Regions from separate parts of the Homo sapiens genome. Here all the other regions are linked to region 2. Evidence: promoter capture Hi-C in 16 types of primary human blood cells and fetal thymus (Javierre and others, 2016). All regions are on one chromosome and are shown on one strand. Each heading gives the region's core, a stretch centred on a gene start or on the middle of the fragment in contact. The rest is flanking DNA. Distances are from core to core; before and after follow the strand shown. Region 1 overlaps TOB1 (transducer of ERBB2, 1). Region 2 holds the start of LUC7L3 (LUC7 like 3 pre-mRNA splicing factor). Region 3 overlaps LOC124904029 (a long non-coding RNA gene).

Region 1 (4,889 bases), core at 2,221-4,720, 140 kb after region 2:
TAGTCCCAGCTACTTGGGAGGTTGAGGCAGGAGAATCACTTGAACCCGACAGGCGGAGGTTGCAGGGAGCCAAGATTTCACCACTGCACTCCAGCCTGGCAACAGAGCGAGACTCTGTCTAAAAAAAAAAAAAGATGAAGTTCTCAAGGACACCAAGCTCAAGTTTTAATAAAACCAATCAAGATCACATTTTGAGTTAGTCATTCTCCGATGTCAAACATATGTACCAAGATGAAATTTCCCTAAGATTTTTGTCGATACATATATCCTTAAGATCTGAAACAGATATTCAGGCTTATGTTAACCTCAGTATTTAAAATCTGAATATATTAGTGCTTGGCTGGGTGTGGTGGCTCACGCCTGTAATCTCAGCATTTTGGGAGGCCAATGCGGGCGGATCACCTTAGTTCAGGAGTTTGAGACCAGCCCAGGCAACGTGGCGAAACCCTGCCTCTACAAAAAATACAAAAATTAGCAGGGAACGGTGGCACGCAGCTATAATCCCAGCTATTCAGGAGAGTGAGACAGGAGAATCGCTTTAGTGGAGGTTGCAGTAAGCCAAGATGGCCCCTTTGCACTCCAGCCTGGGTGACAGAGTGAGACCTTGTCTCAAAATAAAATGAATATATTAGTGCTCCAGACAGTTTCAAATTCTATTGTTGACCAGGCGCAATGGCTCATGCCTGTAATCAGAGCACTTTGGGAAGCCAAGGCAGGCAGCTCATTTGAGGCCAGGAGTTCGAGACCAGCCTGGTCAACATGGTGAAACCCCGTCTCTACTAAAAATACAAAAATTAGCCAACATGGTGGCGGGCGCCTGTAGTCTCAGCTACTCGGGAAGTTGAGGCAGGAGAATCACTTGAACCTGGGAGGTGGAAGGTTGCAGTGAGCCGAGATGGTGCCACTGCACTCCAGCCTGGGTGACAGAGCAAGAGACTCCGTCTCAAAAAAAAAAAAAATTCTATTATGTTCCGTCCAGCTGCCTTATGATTTTCAGAAAAAGCACATTACACTTGAGCCTTCATTTATAAGTAGAGTTTTCTCCCAAATGTAACTTTATCAGTCTGTAGCAGAAACTAGTGCTTAAAGCCATTATCCTGATGGTTCTTACAGCTATTCAAACTTCGTGATCACAAAAGCATGTAAGTGGTAAGTGTTGGCAGACCAGATCTCTGCTGCTTGCACCCATTATTCCAATACTTCTTCATAGCCTCGTTCTGTTCCCTAAAGAACAAAAGCCTCACCATGGAGCTGACAAACAGCTTAGCTCTGTTATTTCCAGTGCTTGTTTCCTTAAAACTTTGTATTGCTCTACACTGCATGGGTAAATGACAAAAGGCTTTTGTAGACTGGTGTCCAAAAAGCTCATGAGACCAAATTTATTTCACTGGTAACCCAGGCAGTGCTGGTTTCTTACTATAAAAGTACATATAAAGTTTTTTAAGACAGCTTTCTCACCAATACTATGTCAACACTGTATCAAATGGACGTTAACTTTCTCACCAATACTATGTCAATACTGTATCAATTGACATTTAGTGAAATGACTCATTTAGTGTTCTTCTCCCCAACTCTTCAGTTTTAAAAAACTCCATCCTCACCAAGCCACTCCAATTTGATACATTGTCAATATCTCTAAATCCTTCAAACCAGCAGGTTGGGTACCCACTTGCAAAAAATTAAATACATAAGCGTTTTTGCTGGGAAAATGAAAATGCTAACATCTAACCATCTGTCCAGCCGTGAATAGATTTTGACCATAAGTTCTCTAGCTATATGCAATAGCTAAACTTTAAAGATTAGTAAAGTGATGTAAATTTTTCTAAGTTCAGTCAGCCGTTTTGTCCAAGCAAGTTTCCTCAGCAAAAACAGAAAACTGATCCAATGCTCTCTCCATATAAATTTCAAATAAATCATCTCAGATTACACGAAGGAATTTCATCTTATCACCTGACTCCTCCATGTCAGCATGACATTTTGAAACTTGCTGTATAGCTAACCTTACCATACCATCTCTATAATGGGGTAGACAAATGTGGACTGAAGAGGGCTGTTAAAAAATAAAGTTGTACCAAGCACTGGTCAGGCTATAGTTTTGATAGCATTTTTTATGTGGCAAACCACGATCTGGTACATCAGTAGAGCAACTGCTTTCCATTATTCCTTCGTGACTCAATGAGTCAGGCCTTTTTCCATCATTAGCATTTACAACATAATAACTCCAGAGGTCGATCTTCAGAAAACACTTAAAAACAAAGACAATAGGCATTTTTAATTTTAAAGAATTTTAATACAAACTTAATATAAACTATTTCAGTCCCTCTTAACATGTAAGACACTGACTCAAAATACTTTTATACCGTTTTTTTCAAGTATTGCACAATATAGGTACAAAATTAATATTTACGATTACATTTTTCTTCCATAATATATAGCAAAAATCTTTAAACTTTTAACAGAAAATACATTTTTTTGAAAAAGCAAGTATTCGTACATTTTAATTCCACCACTAAAGGAATATCCTGTACACAATTTTTAGAATAGTTGATGTCTTTAAGATGGATATTTTACAATTTCAGTAAAAAAAATACAACATGAAGCTGCTGCTGTCACAGATCACTGTAGTAAAAAGATATAAATGCAATACCATGTCGTAGAAACAATATATATATATCCTCTGATATTTTACAAACTTTGTACTAAATTAAATTATACAATTAGAAAAGACCAATAAACCCACTTATTAGTGCCAATTTTTATAAAAAAAAATCAGCCATGTCCTTGCTATATCTTAAATACTGTAAGAGGCCATATCTGAGAGTATACTTTAAAATATACAGTCAGTATAAAATAACTTTGTGCTTGGTTGGCAAATGAAAAATGATGCATGTTTTATTATTATTTTTTTAACCAAGCTTGAATGTATCCTTACTATAAGCTTAAAAAAAAAAATTCTCAAGGAGGTGAAAAAAAAAATCCCCCTTGGGCCCGTGCATTTTAACTTGTACGATACATTTTCTTTTTTTTAGTTAGCCATAACAGGCTGGAATTGCTGGTTAGAATACTGCATGTTATTTAAGCTAAAATTCAAGCCATCTACAAAAGATTTCTCATTGAGGCCTCCATAGGCTGCAAACACATCAAAGGCATTACTGTACTGGAGAGGACTGAGGTTAAGGGGGCTGTCACCTGGGAACATTCCATTGGTACTACTACCTTGACCCTGCATATTAGGAAAAATAAATTCCTTGGCATTAGGAGAAAGAGCAGAGGTTTTCTGCTGTTGTTGCTGCTGTGGTGGTGGTGGTGGCGGTGGCGGCTGGGCTGGCTGCTGCTGTTGCTGTGGCTGCTGCTGGCTACCCAAGCCAAGCCCATACAGAGAGTGCATTGAGGAAGAGATGGCTTTCTGCTTCAAGAGGTCATTCACATTCAAGCCGAGGTTGATGGGAGAAGTACGTGCAACCTTGTTGCTACGGCCACTATTCTTCATTTTGGTAGAGCCGAACTTGGTGGCAGCAAAAGTGGCAGTGGTAAAGGTTAAAGGCTGAGTGGACCGGGGCATGAAGGTAGGGCTTACAGCAGCAGAGTGACCAAAAGGAGGCGATGGAGAGCTGGACACTGATGAGGCTGGGTCACTTATGGGCATAAAAACCTGGGCCTCTGGGTTAAAGCTGTTTTTGATCTCCTTATCCAACTCACATCCATTTTCATTATTATCATCCACGTAAAGCACCTTCACTGGTCCCTTTTCACCAATTTGGTAAGAAACCTCAAATGGGTCGATCCAAACACTAAGATCCTGTGGCAGATTGCCACGAACATCATCAATGTCCAAACCACTCTCTTTGGATGCTTGTTCAATCACTGGGTCCACTTTCTCCCCTATGTGTATACATCTAAACCCCGATCCTTTGTATGGCTTTTCAGGATACCAGTGCCCTTCATATTTCTTCTTAAGAAGTCTTTCAAGTTCTTCACCAAAAATGTTGACACGTCTCCTGGGAAGCTTATTGTACAAATACGAAATAATAAAATTTAGTGCTACTTGGATTTCAAGCTGCATAGCTGCTACGCCACAAAATTAGGTTTCAACTCCCCCACCAAAAAAAAAAAAAAAAAAAAAAGATGTTCAGTTTGTGGCAGAGAAACAAATTTTCATTCAAAGTGCTGGTATTAGTAGATTATCCTTCACCTTGAGTGATCTTGTTCCTTAAAACAAAAGCAAACATATCCAAATAAGATAAATGTAATATAAGTCCCATGACCTTCCCCCCTCCAAAGTAATTTCACCTTTCAAAATGTCTAAGATCCTGTGTTAGTCTGCTAAGGATAAAAAGAAAAAGAAAATGTCTACTAGGACAGAAAGCCTGAAAACTGTTACTAGCACAAAATAAACATAAAATAGAAAATCGTTTATTAAAGTTTAAAATGACACAGGAAAATGTAGATTTACAAATGAAATAATGCTTTTAAAAACCTGTTTCTGAATAGAGTTCTAAGAAGAAAAATCTCTAGAACATGCATTCTTCTCTCCTCAGTTCTCACAAGAATATTTATTGTACTCAGCATCCTCCCCCCACCCCCATATATATAGATGCCACTTTTAGGTAGTAATTTTTATTGTTATTCACCAACTTAGAAGTGAATCCATGTTTTAGTTTACTTTGGATATATACTGTTTAAATCTGCTCTGTCACTGACATTTAAAAATTTGGTTACGTTAGGAAGATCATTTTAATTTCCATAGTACATGATGCTAAAATTAAAGACACTGAGTACTAAATGAACTTCATCCTAGTAAATAATTATGAACCAAATTATTCTATATAGTTTCGGCCTTAAGTATACTAAGAGCATACAATATAATAAAATCCAGCTTCTCTGGGCCT
Region 2 (4,626 bases), core at 1,283-3,782:
ACTCACTCTGTTGCCCAGGCTGGAGTGCAGTGGCGCGACCTTGGCTCACTACAGCCTAAGTCTCTTGACAGTCCACTGTTTAAAGCGATGCTCCTGCCTCAGCTTCCCGAGTAGCTGAGATCACAGGCGCCACCACCACGCCTGGCTATCCTTTGTGTTTTTAGTAGAGACAGGGTTTCCCCATGTTGGCCAGGCTGGTCTCGAACCCATGACCTCAAATGACCCACCTCTGCCTCCCAAAGTGCTAGGATTCCAGGCGTGAGTCACCACGCCAGGACCCAACCCGTTACCTTTTTAAGATTTTAAGTCATTAACTATCCCCTTCTTTTATTTTCCACCTCTCTACTGGAATATCCCCAACATTAAACATTCTCTCATTTCCTACGTTTGGGGTTTTTTTTTTTTTGGTCTTTTCTTTTTTTTTCCTTTTTGTGGAGAATGGCGTCTTGTTATGTTGCCCAGGCAGGTCTTAAACTCCTGGCCTCAAGCTATCTCCCTGCCTCTGCCTCCCTAAAGTAGTGGGATTATGGCGTGAGCCACCATGTCTAGCCTCTAATTTCCTATCTTCAAAAAGGCTCCAGCCCCACTTGGTGGCTCACGCCTGTAATCCCAGCACTTTGGGAACTTTGGGAGGTCGAGGCAGGTGGATCACCTGAGGTCAGGAGTTTGAGATCAGCCTGGCCAACATGGCGAAACTCCGTCTCTACTAAAAGTACAAAAATTAGCTGGGCGTGGTGGCGGGTGCTTGTAATCCCAGCTACTCAGGAGGCTGCGGCAGGATAAACTTGAACCCGGGAGGCAGAGGTTGCAGTGAGCCAAGATGGTACCACTGCACTCCAGCCTGAGCGATAGCTCAAAAAAAAAAAAAAAAAAAAAAAAAGGCTTCATGTCCCATACCTCCTTTGAGTTCTCACCCTATTTTGCTGCTTTCCTTCTTAAAAAGAGGTGTCCACGACCGGGCGCGGTGGTTCACGCCTGTAATCCCAACACTTTGGGAGGCTGAGGTGGGTGGATTATTTGAGCTCAGGAGTTCAAGACCAGCCTGGGCAACTTGGCGAAACCCCGTCTCTACCAAAAATACAAAAACTTAGCCGGGCGTGGTGGCATGCGCCTGTAGTCCCAGCTACTGGGGAGGTTGAGGCGAGGGGGTCGCCTGAGCCCGGGAGGTTGAAGCTGCAGTGAGCTGAGATCGTGCCATTGCACTCCAGCCTGGGTGACAGGGCCAGACCCAGTCCCCCCAAAAATAAAAGTGTTGGGCTTGTTATCAATGTGTAGTGCCTTACATTGTATAAACTCATTTAATCTTCACAATAGCATCGTGGCTGGGGGCCGGGGGAGGACTATTGTAAACCCCATTTTACAGAAAAGGAAACAAAGGCACAGAGCGGCAGAGCTGGGATTACGAACCCAGGCAATCTGGCTTTAGAGACCATACCCTTAACTGTGCTAAAGCATTATCCCAACATACGTTGATATATTTGTGACTTTATTTCTTCAGCGATTATCTCCCCTCGCCAATGCACAGGTCTGCGGGAGCATGGACTGTCTGAAAGGTTCTGAGTTTAGCTTTAAGCACAGTGCCTGGCACATACCATTTGTTGAATAAATGGATCTACCTATCTATATATATGTGTGTGTGTGTGTGTGTATGTGTGTGTGTGTGTGTGTGTGTATATATATATATATATATATATATATTTTTTTTTTTTTTTTTTTTTTTTTTGAGATGGAGTTTTGCTCTTGTTGTCCAGACTGGAGTGCAATGGCGCGATCTCGGCTCACCGCGACCTCCGCCTCCCGGGTTCAAGCGATTCTCCAGCCTCAGCCCCCTGAGTAGTTGGGATTACAGGCATGCGCCACCACGCCAACCTAATTTTGTATTTTTAGTGGAGACGGGGTTTCTCCATGTTGGTCAGGCTGATCTCGAACTCCCGACCTCAGGTGATCCGCCCGCTTCGGCCTCCCAAAGTGCTGTGATTACAGGCGTGAGCCACCTCACCTGGCCTACTGGATCAATATCTTTTTAAAAAATTCCACACTGGGAGACATTTGGTGTAGGACTGAATCCCCGTATTTTAGAAGCCGCCTTGTCTCTTCTTGCCTCGATTTCCCATCCTGTTAATCAGGAGACTCAGGGCGGGAGGACAAAGCCAGGTGCAAGAGGCGTGAGCACAGCGACTAGGAAAATGGAGTCGGAAGCCGTAATCTTCAGTTTCCTCCGCTGCATGAGGCACCATGTGCACCACGTGGACTAAAGGAGACACTTTCTCCATTTTGAAGCGGTGTCCAGGCTTCAAGACCTAGGCTCCAATTTCTCACCGTGAAGAAGCTCGGGAAAACCGGGCGCTTGGGGAGGCGCGCGGGCAGAGGCTACCCGTCCCCGCGGCCTCTAGACAGGGGCGGAGTCCCTACCCGGCCTCCGCGGGCCCCGCCCCCGGACGGCGGAAGCCGAGCTCGCCCTCTCCGCCCGGGCCTGGGCGTGTCCCACGGGCGCACGGCATGCTGGGAAGGCGTCCGCGCGGCGGCCATTTTGTCTTGTCGGCTCCTGTGTGTAGGAGGGATTTCGGCCTGAGAGCGGGCCGAGGAGATTGGCGACGGTGTCGCCCGTGTTTTCGTTGGCGGGTGCCTGGGCTGGTGGGAACAGCCGCCCGAAGGAAGCACCATGATTTCGGCCGCGCAGTTGTTGGATGAGTTAATGGGCCGGGACCGAAACCTAGCCCCGGACGAGAAGCGCAGCAACGTGCGGTGGGACCACGAGAGCGTAAGTCCCGCGGGCCTTGGCCTGAGCCCGGGCTCCGTGGGGGAGGGGAGCGGGCGCGGGCTGTGGCCCTCCTGGCCGCGGCGCGATGTGGCCAGGGCCGCACCCGGGGTCGAGCGTCTGACCCGGTGCCCATGGAGCCAGGAGGGAGGATGCTGTCCGGACCCGGGGATGGGGGTGATTTGGTTTTGTTGTTCTAGTATCAAGGGGGTCCGGGAGAGCCCTTGGCATAATTGAAAAGCACCTTGATGAGGCGGGGAAACGCGGGAAAGAAGGATAGCAGCGTCTTATTAAATCTAGCGGCTCCGAGGTTTCACCTCATTATGAAATAGGGAGAAGGGCACATTTTTCTATAGTTTGGGTTGAACGTCGTATTTAGACTAAAATTTCTGACCAGGATTCATGGTAAAAATCGTGGCGGTATTTTATTTAAGTAATTACAGCATGACGCTTATACGGGGAAATAGAAATGTAAAAGAAGTCGTTTACTTGTTAGGGTTTACCGTGATGATTTACAAGTATTGTTCGTTAACAGTATTCTAAGAAGTCCCTTATAGAGGCAGCTGTCAAGGTTTTTTCTTCCACATAAAACTCATTTGATGCTCTTAGCCCGGGGAGTAAAGGTAAATATTATAACCCCAGTTTCACTGGTGAGACTTAAAAAGGCTCACCCAAAGTCTTGGCAACTGAGGAAACTAATCTTTGTAGTTCTGTTAGCTTTCCACAATCCTATGAAACTGGTTCTCTGCACCTACTGTAGCATTTCAAGTGTTTTGATCTAGTTTTGAACATGCAGTGTAATGTTTACTTTAGGTCTTATCTGGAGAATAGATACAGAATTTAATTTTACTTTGAGGTTATAATCTAACATGCTAATTTTAAAACAATTGCTAATCAAAATAGGAAGGAATAGTTCAGGTAATGCATGCTTCTTTAGAAAACTGTTTTCTTACTCTTTTTAAACGTAGGCTTTGGTTAAGGTAAAATTTCTTTTTTGCAGTGTAGGAAAGCAAGTTGGTGCTAGATGACTCCTTTTAGGACTTTAAGAAAGAGTAAGTTTGGCTCAAGTTGTGTTGGGGTGCTAACTGATTCCAAAGTAGTATGAAACATTCTTAGAGTAGAATTTATTGTTTTTAAGAGGTGGGTTTTTTGTTTTTAACATTTAGGCTCCCCATCCCCCCGACCATTTGTCACAATAGGAGACTAAGGAACTGCTTACCTTGACCATCTTTCTTTTGTAGGCATCTTTGTTATAGCGAAGTAACTTTTTTTTTTTTTAACTACCTGACTCTGTAACCTTTCAGTCTAAACTTTGCAAATGTGTTAGGAATAACGCTCAAAATCCTAAGTAAGGTAAAAAACCAAAACATTATGGCGATTTGGCTTATGTTCAATAGGTTATTTGTATATTTTGAATTCAAGAGAAAAATGCTTTCCATTGCACTCCTTATCAGTTGGAACAGCCTTGTATCTCTGCACCCTTGACTTTGAACACGTTTTAGAGAAACTGTTTTCTTTCCCGGGGTAATTTGTTGCCACATTGCATTGTATGTGATGGGTTTATGACTCTTCAATGATGAGGCCCTCAGAATAGCAATTTAGGTTTTATGTCATCTCAGCCGTAATCTGCTTTGCTTTCAGTTTTAGTACTTTTCACTAATTTTAACTTTCAGTGTTTATTACTAAAGTATTTAATGCCTTAATGACAGATTGCACTTCACTCTAGATTGAAGGATTTCAAGTCAGTTACTGGCATTTCAGATTGATATCTGCAGGGAAAATGTTGGTAGTGTTGAGCAAAAACAAAGCACATGGTCTCATCTAAATAGGTGGAATTATTGTATAATGAAGCTGGGGAAGCTGTTGAT
Region 3 (4,508 bases), core at 1,765-4,264, 230 kb after region 2:
GTGAAGGGGTTGGCTGAGATGAGGCGTTTCAAGTCTGGCCGCCTGTGCCTCTGATCTAGAGACCCCCCCCAGGCCAGAGACCCTCCCACCAGAGCCTGGCTCAGGCCAGGTGCATCTGCCTGATGCAGCCCAAGAGGCTGGGCCATGGTGGACCAGGAGTAGCTGTGGCCGTGGGTAGCTGGTGGTGCCCAACAGCTCACACCAGCGTATGAGGGAGTGGCACATACACATATGTGTGGGAGTCTGGTGTGCTGGGTGTGCCTCAGTAGGTAGGTGGCTGCCCAGGGGAGTGTGTGCTTGGCATGTGTTTACGAGGGGTGTAAGGAGTGTCTGCAGCAAGTGTGTAGGGGGTGGGCCACATGTGTGTAGGTCAGGTATGTATAGTTGGGGTGTGGGCGGATATTGGAGGAGTGTCTTAGTGGTCAGGGGGAGGCTTGAGGCAGGGGAGGAAGGCCTGGAGGGGCCACTCCCTCACTCTGCAAACCCCCCTCTGGCCACATGGTCAGCCTGTGGCCGATGCGCCCTGACCAGTCAATGAACTCAGGGTCTGGAAGAGTCAGCGGCTTTTCCAACCTCTTTGCCAAATGGGATGTCAGCATGGGGGCAGGGGTGGTGGGGGTGCAGGCTGGGGAAGGTGGCAATGACTTCATGACCAGACTACTGAGCAGGTGGGGAGAGGGGGCAGGGCGCTGGAGGCCGGCTGGGTGGGGGATCCACTCTGGGTGGGGAGGCAGCCCAGGCTCATGCTTCCTCAGGACCGCTGGATTCCCTTTGTGGGGAGGACCTCCTGGAGGGTCTGCAGGGGGCTCCCTTGGACTGAAAACCCTCCAGGGACTGTTGCATGGGGTCCCAATAAGCTAACAACAGCCCTGGAAGGTAAGGCCTCTTGTCCCTATTTGACAGATGAGGAAACTGAGGCTGGGAGAGGCAGCCACACAGCTAGAGTGAATGGTGAACTGGACTAGGAACATGGGTGGGCGTGTTTCCCACACTGCCCCACAGTGACACAGCGGGGGCGGGGACAGCCCTTAAAATCCGATCCTCCGCGAACACCTTGAATCCTCAAACCTCCATCCATCCAAAAGGGGCTCCGCCTTGGGGAGGCCCTTCGCACACTTCTCTACAATTTGAGGGGCCGTCGGCTGCAATAACCACATAGTGGGGCCACTACAAGTCAACAGAAGCAGACCCTCTCTCCAAAAACACAGCAGACCCTGTCTCCAACACAGACTAGGCCTAGTTCCGACTTCCAGAATGCCGTGGTCCAGCCCTGGCATTGCTGACTCATGGGGTCAGGCTGGCGTTGCTCCTCTGTGGGGCTGGAGGGGCCCCAGATCACAGACCTGGGGGTGGGTGTGAGCACTGTCTTCGTACCCAGAGGCTGAGGTCAGCTTTTGGGCTGCTCTTTCTTCAGCCATTTACTAGTTTCCCATCGTAATAATAACTACCCCTACCTAAGCTTTATAGCTCAGCAAGGACTTTCACAAACATTCTGTCACTCACACCACCCTTGCACCAGCCCTGTGATGAGGAGTTAATATGCCCATTTTATAGAACAAGAAGCTGAAGCTCAAGGAAGGAGGTTCTGGGACTCATCTCAGATCCCATGGCCAGGAAGCGGTGGCCACTCTGGAATTCTTGACCCTGCCCAGACCAGCACCTTCCACAGCAGAGACCCCCTCCAAGGAGCGGGCGACGTGTGACTTCCCCATGGGTGGACTCTGGGCTGCAGTGATCGGCTAGCGGTGCCATCTTTAGTCTGGGAGCTGTGTGAAGCCTGCTCCCCACCTTCCCCCTCCTGCAAATATTGGGGGAGGGGCATGGAGGACAGGAAGATAGAAGCAAAAGTGGCAGTGACCGGTGCATGAGAGATTGGGAGATACGTGCTGGGGAGGGGTTCCCCGGAGCAGAGCTGGCTGCCCTTGGCACTGGGCCCAGGCGGAGGAGTGGCAAGACCAACAGTTCCTGGAGCACAAGTCCCTCAGCCGGTGCCCAGTGCCAGCCATCGCCATGTTCTCATCTGCCAGCAGCAAAATGAGAAAAATAAGGACAATATAGTGAGGTTTTACTAAAGCTAGGTTTACTCAATCCAAAAGACTGTCCTTTTATCTGAGCTTTGTATTTTCAATCGTGTGTGTGTCTGTGTGTGTGTGTCTGTGTCTGTGTGTGTCTGTGTGTGTGAGCACAAAAGGACCTTTCCTTTGACATTTCCTTTTAATGACCTCAAACTCAGCAAAATAAAAAAACTGGTGACTAGCTGGTGTGGTGGCTCATGCCTGAAATCCCAGCACTTTGGGAGGCCGAGGTGGACAGATCGCTTAAGGCCAGTAGTCTGAGACCAGCCTGGCCAACATGGTGAAACCCCATCTCTACTAAAAATACAGAAATTAGCTGGGTATGGTGGCGGACGCCTGTAATTCCAGCTACTCGAGAAGCTGAGGCACAGGAGTCGCTTAAACCTAGGAGGCGGGGGTTGCAGTGAGCTGAGATGGCACCACTGCGCTCCAGCCTGGGTGACACAGCGAGGCTCTGTCGCAAAAACAAAACTGGTGACGACGTCAGATCCTAAATTTTTTTATTTTTTTGAAATGTTAGTGATGTGAGAAATCCGAAAGGCTGAGACCCACTGGGCTAGCTTGTACGTGGCTCTGGGTGAAACCTGGCACAGGGGGGCAATGTTTTTTAATTGAGGGATGAATCTAAACAGCTGGAAGCTTCTCCCGGGGGGAGGAGGGGCTGGGTTCTTGCCCAGACTCAGCCCCTGAGGCCCCAGCCTAGGCATCCCCAGGAAACCTGAGCAGAAGGAACATTCACGTAACTGTACTGGGAATTCTGAGAAGGGCCTAGGGGCCAGTTCCCCATGCCACACACCCTCTGCTCATCCCTGACCGGGAGCCGCGAGGCAATCTTCCCTTAAACCCCACCTCGGCCTCCCCCAGCACCCCCAAGGCTGGTTCCAAAATAGTCCAGGCCCTTGGAGGAGACATCATGGGTCGGGCTGGCTGCCTGTCCCGAGAGGACATGGCAATAACGCTGTGGCCGAATATAGAGGGACAGTAGACGCTGACAGGGGCCCTGGGGCCTGGGAGCCTCGCAGGTTCCACGGTGCCTGCTCCACCCCCATCCCTTCTGAGCCCTGCACCCCCTAACCTGGACAGCTGGGAGGCTGGCGCCCCTCTCCTGGCCCAGCCCGGCCCACCTGGGGACAGGTCCGAACAAGCCCAGGTAGAACAGGAGGCCGGCCTAGGAGGGCCCAGGGCCTGGGCTGGGCATGAGCTTGGGGCCACCTCTCTCTAGGGACTCAAAGCATTTTATAAGCTTAACTTCCCACAGGACATCCCGAGATCAGGAGACCAAGAGGAACCGGGGTGTCTGCTGCAGAGCCACTCCTGCTCTCTGTTCTCAGCTTCCGAAGGAGAACAGGGCCATAAAGCTGGGGTGTGGGAGGCTGAGAGGAGAGCAGGAAGCCAGTCCAAACCCCAATAAACTGCTGGTTGAATCGAATCACAAATAATTAGTCCCGATGGCCAAGACTGCCTCCACCCTCCTCTCCTGGGAATTAAAAGTCAAAGGGCAGAGCTGCTGACGCAGATGCCAGGGGAGACATGAGGCTTGGAACAGCTGGGACTCAGCTCCCAGGCTCCACTGCCCCAGGTCGCAGGCCCTGGTTGCCCCGGTTGCCCCGGACACGATGTCCCCCAGGCAGGCCCCTAGAGCTTCATTGCCAACTCAGGGAAGGGGGCTCTGCTCCCTCACCCTTCCCCTGGTGCTACGTCAACAGAACTAGATTCAAGGTTAATCAGGCTGCCCTGAAAACTGTTGCCAGATGACAGCCTGGAAGAAGCAGTTGCCAGCCTCTCTCCCTCCCACCCCTGTAAGAGGAGGAAGAGATCTCTGCCTCCCTGTCGAGGGGGAGCCTGGCTCCCTGAAACCCACTGCGCCCCTTCCCCTAGGTCGGCCTTGCCGCAGGCACCCCCTGGACGGCTGCACCAGGTCTGCGCGCCAGCGGTGACCCCCAGTGGTCAGTGCAGGACTTGAACCTGAGCCGTGGGCATGGCTGCTGCAGACTCATCACTGCAGCCTCAGCCCACAGCCAGTGACTTGGGAAGCCTTGCCGTGTGAGTGGTTTGGGGATTTGATCTTGGTAAGGCTGTTGCTGGCGTTTAGAGGTACTTCGTAGGTGCTGATTTTTCCTAATTGAACTGTGGCTGGATCTTGGCCTAAAGGTCCCACTGTCAGCAAATCCGTGTCCACATGCCTAAGAATGAATTCATCATCTTCTAGCCCTAAACCGGCTCCTCCTCCTGACTTCCCTATTTCTATTAATAGCACCGCCACCCTCCAAACCTCCGAGTCATCTTCAGCCGCTCCCCACACTGGGCGGGGTGCCTGATCTTGCCCCTCCTCCCTCCGCAGGTCACCCTTGCATTACTCTCCTGGACACTCGTAGCCTCTCACCTGCGTCACTGACATCCTCAACGATGCTGCTGGGTCAGACCTGGGCAGGG

What was found. Contacts are between HindIII fragments. The CHiCAGO score rates a contact against its expected background, and 5 or more counts as called.
Region 1: a contact is called between a fragment that was not itself captured here and the fragment with the promoter of LUC7L3 in region 2, in 1 of 17 cell types (fetal thymus). The highest score is 9.0, in fetal thymus.
Region 3: a fragment that was not itself captured here is called in contact with the fragment with the promoter of LUC7L3 in region 2 in 1 of 17 cell types (fetal thymus); the score reaches 6.0 in fetal thymus.

What each region holds. Positions count from the first base shown.
Region 1 is chr17:50,859,955-50,864,843 of GRCh38, forward strand. TOB1 (transducer of ERBB2, 1) reads right to left here. Exons shown (of 2, transcript NM_005749.4): 2 at 2,269-4,209. The coding sequence starts at 4,063. The coding sequence ends at 3,026. Among named protein-coding and RNA genes, the nearest start is that of TOB1, 4.0 kb to the right of the region's middle. The HindIII fragment of the contact is 1,068 bases long and covers 2,937-4,004 here.
Region 2 is chr17:50,717,071-50,721,696 of GRCh38, forward strand. LUC7L3 (LUC7 like 3 pre-mRNA splicing factor) reads left to right here and starts at 2,533. Exons shown (of 10, transcript NM_016424.5): 1 at 2,533-2,761. The coding sequence starts at 2,663. RefSeq lists silencers at 2,240-2,469, 2,810-2,869 and an enhancer at 2,500-2,639. The HindIII fragment of the contact is 10,215 bases long and covers 1-4,626 here.
Region 3 is chr17:50,946,495-50,951,002 of GRCh38, forward strand. It overlaps LOC124904029 (a long non-coding RNA gene), which reads right to left. Exons shown (of 2, transcript XR_007065849.1): 1 at 4,459-4,508; 2 at 2,559-4,258. Among named protein-coding and RNA genes, the nearest start is that of TOB1-AS1, 82 kb to the left of the region's middle. RefSeq lists a silencer at 3,854-4,148 and an enhancer at 4,019-4,508. The HindIII fragment of the contact is 604 bases long and covers 2,713-3,316 here.